Regions from separate parts of the Homo sapiens genome. Here region 2 is linked to region 1. Evidence: promoter capture Hi-C in human tissues and cell types (Jung and others, 2019). All regions are on one chromosome and are shown on one strand. The core of a region is centred on a gene start or on the middle of the fragment in contact, and the rest is flanking DNA. Distances in the headings are between cores, read along the strand shown. Region 1 holds the start of CCDC169 (coiled-coil domain containing 169). Region 2 overlaps SPART-AS1 (SPART antisense RNA 1).

Region 1 (4,330 bases), core at 529-3,028:
TCAAATATGCACTAAAGCTCAAAGACCCCCAGGCAACCATTAGAAATCTTTTATTTATTTTTATTTATTTTTTTGAGACAGAATCTCGCTCTGTCGCCCAGGCTGGAGTGCAGTGGTGCAAACTCGGCTCACTGCAACCTCCGCCTCCCGGGTTCAAGCAATTCTCCTGCCTCAGCCTCCTGAATAGCTGGGATTACAGGCATGCGCCACCAAGCCCTGCTAATTTTTTTGTATTTTTAGAAGAGACAGGGTTTCACCATATTGGCCAGGCTGGTCTCGAACTCCTAACCTTGTGATCCGCCCAGCCTCGGCCTCCCAAAGTGCTGGGATTACAGGCGTGAGCCACCAGGCCCGGCCCTTGGAAATCCTTTATTTTTAACTTAAATATCATCCTAAAGAAGTTAGTTACCTGGTTTTTCAGAACCAAGCAAATTAGGCACTGCACATTATTACAGAAAGGCATACCTAGGGCAATACATAACAGCTGACAAACTGAAACAAAGAGAAAAAAACAAACACTAATTTAAAAGGTTAGCTATTTAGGGCATCAGTAAATAGAACATTATCATATGACAGGGCCATTTATTCAATAAATATTTTTGAGTGCCTATTATGTTCAAGGCATTGTATTAAATACGGAAGAATTCAGTGAACAGTGAACAGAAAAATAGCAATAGCGGCAGCAAAGTTCCACTGGATGCGTATCACAAGCCAATGCTAAGTTCTTTATAGTGCATTTCATTCCAACCTGGGAACAACAGCAGGAGGTATGAGATGACTATTTGTATACCAGTCTTAGAGCTGAGAAAACTGAGGATTAAAGAGGTTAATTAACTTGTCTAAGATTGCATAGTTACTGAGTGACAAGAGATGGAGTTTGTGTTTTTGCAGGACTGTCCTCAAGTACTTGCTCTTATTCTCTACTTCCTCAGAATACACAGAACCTGTCCTCAGAACGCGTGTAGTTTGGTAGCAAAACAAGAAATAGACAGGCAATTAAAATACTGTGACTGGAGCTACAATAGAGGAAAACCCAGAACCCTATCTAGGCACAAAGGAGAGTCCAATTCTCACGGGACTTGTGGATGGAGTTGGGAGTATGTCCAAAAAATACTTTAAATGTTTCAAAAATTTAACACGAAGTACGAATACTGTTTTTAAAAAGCATAAAGGAGGAGTAACAGTTTTACTAAATGTCATTTTATGAAGTTCCCCTTAAAGGGATGAAAGAAAAAAAAAACCCCGTATAACTAAATAAAATCTTTGGAATTTTAAGCAGAAAACCTGGATTTATGGAGACATCAAAACCAAACACAACTTTTGGCATTACAGTATATGGGCAAAATACACGCCATATGATTGGATCCTTAAGGGCAGCACATCCTACCCGGAAAGCTGCCTACTTAACAATACCAAAGGCTTACTCAAAGAGGCACGTGAATCTTTCGCATGGAATACTTTTGGAACCCAGACCGAAGTGCCCAGGGGTTAATCACGGCGCCGGTCTTACAGCACCCTCAGCGGCTTCAGCCCTGAGACTCTGCAGGTGAAGGCTCGGGGGGTGTGGACGGGACCCCACACCGCGCCGCCCGCCGACTCACTTCTTGCGGACTTCTTCCAGCAACTGCTGTTTCAGGCGGTTGGTGCTCACACCGTCGAAGTTGTAGTTTCTCTCTTCCTTCATAGTGTCAGGCCAGAGACCTCCCGCGTCTTTCCCCTCAGCACCTTAGAGCACAAGACATTAAGGGCCACCCAGAAGCCAGTACGGCACGAGGCGGTGAACCCCAACCGCCCCCCGGTCGCACCTCCCGCGCCTGCCCGCAGAGGCACGTGGTGACGTCATAAAGCGATGCCCGCAGGCGGCAGGGGGTGGGGCGAGGGCAGCCGGGGAGACTGGAGAAGCCTACTCTGTGCGGTGGAGCGACCCTGGATAACAGCTCCAGGGACACTCCTTGCTCAAGACGCTGGGGTTAGACGTGCTCCGGCTACACAGCGGAGTGTCAGGGGGCCAAGAATATCCCTCTCCTTTTTCTTCCCTCCTGCTGGCTTTGGTTGCTTTCCTAAACATTGCCCCGGACGGCAAAGTCGGCTTCACTCTTAGCCCTTGTTAGGGAAACGCTGGATCCAAGATTAGCTGCGCCCTTCTTTGCTTCAGTTGAACAAGCACCAGAGTCGCTGATTTGGCAGTGTCGGAGCGGGAGGAACTGGTCTTAAAAAGGTACCTCCTGAACTCGGGAAGACTGCTAACCCTCCAGATTATTGTTTTGCATCTGTGTGCTGTTCATGAACATACCTCAGAGCTGCTCACTGCAACTTGAAATTTCATTATATTTTTAATCACAAAGTTTGCATCCTACCCTTGATACATCTGTGTTTCCTTGACAAAAAGAGACAAACTCTGTAAAATATTTGAAGAGATTTATTCTGAGCCAAATGAGTGACCAATGGCGGGTGACAGCCCTCAGGAGATTCTGAGAACACGTGCCCAAGGTGGTCAGGGTACAGCTTAGTTCTATACATTTTAGGGAGACATGGGACATCAATCAAATGCATGTTAAGATATACACTGGTTCCATCGGGAAAGGCAGGGCAATTGGAAGGGGTGGGGGACGGGGTGGCTTCCAGGTCACAGCTAGATTCAAAGATTTTCTGATTGGCAATTGGTTGAAAAGTTACTGACTAAAGACTTAGGAATGTCTTTAGAGAATAAAGGGGTTGTGGAGACCAAGGTTTTAGTGAGAATGGGATAATTGGTGTGGAAAACACAATTTGGTGTCAGAAGTGTTGTGAATACATAGTTTTCCAATTGAGTTTCTGGATGAGATTAACATTTCAATTGGTAGACTGAGTATAGTACATTGTCTTCCCCAATGTGGGTGGGCCTCAGCCAATCGACCGAAGACAGAATAGAACAAAAAGGCTGACCTCCCAGGAGTAAGAGGGAGCTCCTACAGCCAAACAGCTTGAGCTGGAACACTTTTCCAGCCTTGGGCTCAGACTGGGACTGCACATCAGTTTGCTTGCATCTCCAGCTTGTCAACTGCAGATCCTGAGACTTCTCAGCCTTCATAATTGTACGGGCAAATTCCTTATAATAAATCTTTTATACACACACTCCCTATTGGTTCTGTTTCTGTGAATTACCCTAATATAGGAGGTATGCTTATCAAAATTTTGTCTAGCTGTTAAGTCTGAAAGGGCAACTCACAACCAAGTAAACAGAATAGAATGAAGTGAAAAGGACTAGATTATCTGTTGACAAATCCAAATATACAGAGGATTTCTTTTTTGAGACGGAGTCTCATCTGTCTCCCAGGCTGGAGTGCAGTGGCACAATCTCAGTTTACTGCAAACTCCACTCCTGTGTTAAAGCAATTCTCCTGCCTCAGCCTCCCAAAGTAGCTGGGACTACAGGCACGCACCACCATGCCTGGCTTAATTTTTTTGTGTATTTTTAGTAGAGATGGGGTTTCACCATATTGCTCAGGCTGGTCTTGAACTCCTGACCTCGTGATCCACCCACCTCTGCCTCCCAAAGTGCTGGGATTATAGGCATGAGCCACTGCACCCGACCCAGAGGATTTCTTAAAAAGATCTGTTAGCAGGATCTCACTGTGGGAAATTAGGAGCAAAGGCAAGCAGAAAACAGGTTTGTCAACAACTACAGAAACCACAGATTTGTGTTTCTGGCAGAGATAAAGGACCTGAATTTACCCTCCTGCCTGAAACAACTAAAAAACTAAGAGGAACAAAAAAAGAACATTGAACATCAGGCAATAAGGGAAAACGATCACCAAGAGATGAGACACAAATGAGGCAAGCTCCCAAATTGGCCTGGGCCTGCCAGGGTACAAAGCAGAAAGGGAGAAAACAGGCAGAGGCTGGTGGTTGCCCTAAGTTGAGGAAACGGAGTTTCTCTAAGAGTCTAGAGAGAACAAGGCAGCTAGACTTTGCAGGGCAGATATTGGAGGGGAGAGCTGCACAGGGTGTTCCCAGACCAAACTGAGGGTTGGGTTGCTATTTCTTGTGACCCAGTAAGAACATGTAGATGAACTGGGGAGGAAGAGAGTTTTTATTTCTGGAACCAGTTACAGGCAGAAGCCCTGGAAACTATAACCAGACCAACTCAAAATTACAGTTTTCCAGACCTTCTAAGCTATATGTCTATGTGTAAGTGTGCATTCATCTATAGACATTAAGTGGTTAACTTTTTATAATCTACAACTAAGGTCTTGAGTCCTGAAGACCTTCCTCTGGAGCCTCAGTAAACTTAATCTAAATGGGTCCAGGTGCTAGGGTGATTACCCCTGTCTCCTGCTAAATCAGGGAG
Region 2 (4,766 bases), core at 853-3,352, 53 kb after region 1:
ACTTAACTACAAAGCTGCAGGCCAGGCATGGTGGCTCACACCTGTAATCCCAGCACTTTGGGAGGCCGAGGCAGGCGGATCACCTGAGGTCGGGAGTTCGAGACCAGCCCGACCAACATGAAGAAACCCGGTCTCTACTAAAAATACAAAATTACCTGGGCGTGGTGGCGCATGCCTGTAATCCTAGCTACCCAAGAGGCTGAGGCAGGAGACTCACTTGAACCCGGGAGGTGGAGGTCACCGTGAGCCGAGATTGTGCCATTGACTCCAGACTGGGCAACAAGAGCAAAACTCTGTCTCAAACAAACAAGCAAAAAACTGCAGTAAGTCAGTGTGGTTAATTTTTGTTTTATGAGGTATGTTTATGTTCACAGAAGCTTCCACGTATGGTTAAGTTACTGCTAGCCATAGTAGTCTAGTGCTGACTTCTAGGAATATTCGTACTACTGACTGCAGAATTACCTGGCATCCAAACAGAAAGACACTGGCCAGGCACCATATTGCTTTCTGTTTGGGTCCTACAGTGCCCAGTACCAGAAGGATGTGGTAGAAGGAACAAGTAAAGTGAACAGGGCCAGAAGCTCATCTGTAGAAAAGTGTAAGCAAAGGATTTGGTTTGCTCCTCAGTACCTGGTCAAAACCTGTATTAGTGGTCCTTCCAAATTCGATAATTGTGAAATTCTGTGACACTCTTAATACTGAATTATGAAGCTGAACTGAGCTTTCCTAAATTATATTAAAAAGCTAATCTTGATAAACTATGCTAGAGGAAAAACTGAATTATCTGTTATCTCTGTGGAATATGTTGCAAAATCATTTTCATATGAAGAAGCAATCAGCATAGAGCCAAGAAAGGTGGGGGAAAGTATTATGGGCTGTGCCAAGCACCTGAATAATAGAATGATGTTATTTTTCTGGATTTTGTGGTATCTGTAGTATTCGTCAGCTTTTTTAAATTAGTAATTTTTTGATTCACTTTTATTATTTTCCTACAGAAGGCCATTCAAACTGTGAAAGCTGCAAGCATCACAAAACTTGGATCTGCTTAGGCCAAAGGGGTGCTTGAGATTAGCAGAAAATAATTGCGTATATTTGGAAACATGTAAAAAGCCATTTTTAACATTTAATATATCTTATTGAGGTAAAACAAGGATTGGATTGTCAAATCAGACTGACAAGATTCAGAGCTTTCTTTTACCCAGTCACAAGAAAATAATGGCAGTATCCAAAACCACTAACCCAGGTCCCCAGGGCTTCCCCGAATTCCTTAGAACACATTCTGGCTTAGATCTCGCAGGTGAGGTCTCTGAGTAAGTTATGCCGGTGAACACTTACACAGATGGAGCTCTTTCAGTCAGGAACTATCTCCGTTTTATACTGAAATAATTACATGGTGGACACTGACATTTTCCACTGGGCCATTCCATGTATTAATATATCGATCAATTCCGGGTTTATTTACCTTAGGCCATCTAGACAGACCAGGTGTACCCTGCTAAAAAGCATTTCATAGACAAGGACTCCCCATTCTCTTTCCACCAGAATATACCTTGCATGTTTACAAGGAGATTTGATTTGGTCATTTCCACCTGGCCATCTCAGGATAGGAATAATTGGCTAAAAACCAGCTGCTGTCACTTAACTTCTAACTTTTCTCCCCTGTCTTTTTTTCTTACCAGATCCTTCTAAAAAAAATAATTCTCTAAAACTAGTGAATAATTGTGGCTGAGGTCTTTAAATGAAAATTACCATCATACCATTATAGAAGAGAACAATATTTTGAAATCATGGCACTTTTGGGGCTTTTACCCCTGGGTAATGCACCAGAGTAAGATTTAGGGAGCTGTGTATTTCTTGCATAAAGTGGGAAAAGTTTTAGTGTGAAAGGAGGAGTAGGAAAAAAGATACTAGGAAATAGCACATAAAAAATTAAAATCTGGGTATTGATTATCTTATCTTATATCCCTGTAAATTTCTGCATACCTCCAGTGGTATACATACCCCGGTCAAATATTTTTACATCACATACTTGTAGCAGAGAGTCTGGGACCACTAGTTCTAGAATCCAAGAACCCGAGTTTGAAGCCACCTTCATCTCACAGTTGTTGCCACTTAAACACTCTGACCTGTTTTCTCATCTGTAATATGGGGATGTGATAATAGAATCTGCCTCACAGGGTGGTTACCTAAATTAACTGAAGTAACTCATTTAAAGTTGGCACTCAAGCCAGGTGCAGCAGCTCACACCTGTAATCCCAGTACTTTAGGAGGCTGAGGCAGAAGGATCACTTGAGACCAGGAGTTCAAGACCACCCTGGGCAACAAACAAGACCTCATCTCTAATTTTGAAAAAAAAAAAAAAGTTTGCACTCAATAAATATTGGTAGTAATACATGAATTTCTTCTCTTCTTGCTGACATTCTTTAATGATTAGCAAAGATCAATTTGGTTCTAAGCAAATCTGTATGTTTTTTAAAGTCTGTCTTCCTTAAGATTGATGAAGTTGTTTTCTCTTGGCAAAGAATTTATTTCACTGTACAAAAATTGGTAAATATGAACACTATTGTAACCCTGTCACAGTGCCATTAATAAAACAGTAGTAGTATACATAGCATTATTTTAATAACGTAAATGTTCTCGGAAGAAAAATCTACTTGTTAATGGACTTTAGGAATGATATATGCCTATTTGGGTTTTAGGCATGCAATACCCATTATACTTACAAATCCTGGGTGATTATGCTAAAGACTTTTGTGTAGAAGCCTGTAGTTTAGTTAGATGAATGTGCTAAAAGTTTCAATCATAAATTATGCTAGATTCAATTTCATTCAGGTTGTCATTTCTTTTATTCACATGCTGAAAATATAGTATTTTTTCTTTTCATCTATTATATAATATTGTCAGTGGGTATTAGAAAACCCAGAGAGTATATCACATAATGATGAATATCATTAAAATGAGAAATGTCCAAATTAGCCATGAATTGAGTTAGATGTCAGGGTATCCATCTCATGAAGTGAACTTAGGTTATCACTAATGATATAACCGAATTGCTCCAAGCTCATGTTGAAATCAGTGGGATGACTCGATGTAAACTAAAACTCCTTGTGAGTACATTATGTTGAGGGTTAATGTTTTAATAATGTTCTAAAAGTTGTACATGAGGTAAGGTTTCTGACCTGTGATCTCATTACTTTTTTCTTTCTTGAACTCTACATTATATGAAAAGCATGCATTTGACAAAAGATCAATAATTGTGATGTTCTTAGTAAAGTATAACTTTCCTCTTACAGACCAAATATAGTGGATGATGGGCAATTTACTGATTAAAAATGGAAAACAATTCCTTTAACATTTCTTACTAACCTAATTTGACTTGGTACTAGCTAAATTGTACTTTTTATATTATGTTATAAATAGGCTACTGGGTTGGCTATCTTATTTTCTATTATATGTGTAACAGAGTGGTGGAGTGGGATTTAAAACCAGACACCAAAATTCTTCTAATAACTGCATTCCTTTAGGAAAATACATTGGTAAGCCACCTAGATTCAAGATGAGTCACCAAGGACACAGGCAAAATCAGACAGATAAATGAGAGAATACTTACACAGCATTTTGTAATACTGTCACTACATTACAAATGAGCAAAGATTTGCACAAGTGGAGTAGGGAATGAGAAGCAGTGAAAACTGAGAAGAGGCCAGGTGTGGTAGCCTCACACCTATAATCCCAACATGTTGGGAGGCTGAGGTGGGAGGATCAATTGAGCCCAGAAGTTCAAGACCAGACCAGCCTGGGCAACACAGGGAGATCCCGTTTCCAAAAAAAAAAAAAAAAATTGAAAATTAGCCAGGCATGGTGGCACACACCTGTAGCTCCAGCTACTTGGGAGGCTGAGGTGGGAGAATCTCTCAAGCCTGGGAGGTCAAGGCTACAGTGAGCCATGTTCACATCTCTGCACTCCAGCCTGAGTGACAGAACCAGAACCTGTCTCAAAAATAGAAAATTTAAAAATTGAGAAGAGAGGAAAAGCCAAGCAACATGATAGACTGACAAAAGACTCAGAACGAAATTTCCAAATTTTGCATTTGAGGTTGCTTTTGCTGTTGTGATGTATGAAGCCTACATTTTCTGAATACTTTAGAGCAGTTTGCCAAAAAATGCTGTGTTTTGTCTTGTTTTGTTTTATTTTGCTTTGTCTAGAAATGTAGGAAAAAGGCTCACCATTCATCTTGTTTACATGGTACAGAGCAAGACAAATATGTAAAGAATGAGACGAAGAATGATGCTGAGAGAACCCATGAACTGAGCTCCTTAGGGAAAGGAAAGGCTCAGAGCCAAAAATGTCCTCGAGACTGTAAGCCCCTGGGGAGACCCTTGGACATTTTGAAGAAGGCATTAGATTTTCTATGAGAGGTGGGAATGGAAGCTCAAAGCAAATGTCAATGCCCTCCAGCCAAATACAACCAAGAATACACTGGAGGTTTTTAGCAAACTGGGTTTATTACTTATTGAAGTGAGGGAGAACACACACCATGGGGAGTTAGGAGACATCTCGGTAAAAGGGTGTTAGAAAGGCCCTATTATAGCATTTGGGCTTGTGTTAGGTGATTTTGGTTTGGTATAAGGAACTGGGCTTTGCTCTGGGTTGGGCGCTGTCAGGAATCAGGAATAATTCTTTGATCGGGGATTTTAAACCTTATCTAGGAGGGAAGATGAGAGCCACACCAGAACTGTAATTAGGAAAGAAGCAGCAGTCACTC

What was found. The method cuts DNA at HindIII sites, captures the fragments that hold promoters and counts their contacts. A contact is called where the count stands out against the background at its distance.
Region 2: a fragment that was not itself captured here is called in contact with the fragment with the promoter of CCDC169 in region 1 in 1 of the 25 tissues and cell types used here (thymus).

The regions. Positions count from the first base shown.
Region 1 is chr13:36,296,036-36,300,365 of GRCh38, forward strand. CCDC169 (coiled-coil domain containing 169) reads right to left here and starts at 1,779. Exons shown (of 8, transcript NM_001144981.3): 1 at 1,602-1,779. The coding sequence starts at 1,684. CCDC169-SOHLH2 (CCDC169-SOHLH2 readthrough) reads right to left here and starts at 1,779. Exons shown (of 16, transcript NM_001198910.2): 1 at 1,602-1,779. RefSeq lists enhancers at 1,406-2,367, 2,368-3,330. The HindIII fragment of the contact is 10,512 bases long and covers 1-4,330 here.
Region 2 is chr13:36,348,963-36,353,728 of GRCh38, forward strand. All of the region lies in intron 1 of SPART-AS1 (SPART antisense RNA 1), which reads left to right. It also overlaps a transcript of SPART not described here. Among named protein-coding and RNA genes, the nearest start is that of SPART-AS1, 4.9 kb to the left of the region's middle. The HindIII fragment of the contact is 6,788 bases long and covers 1-4,766 here.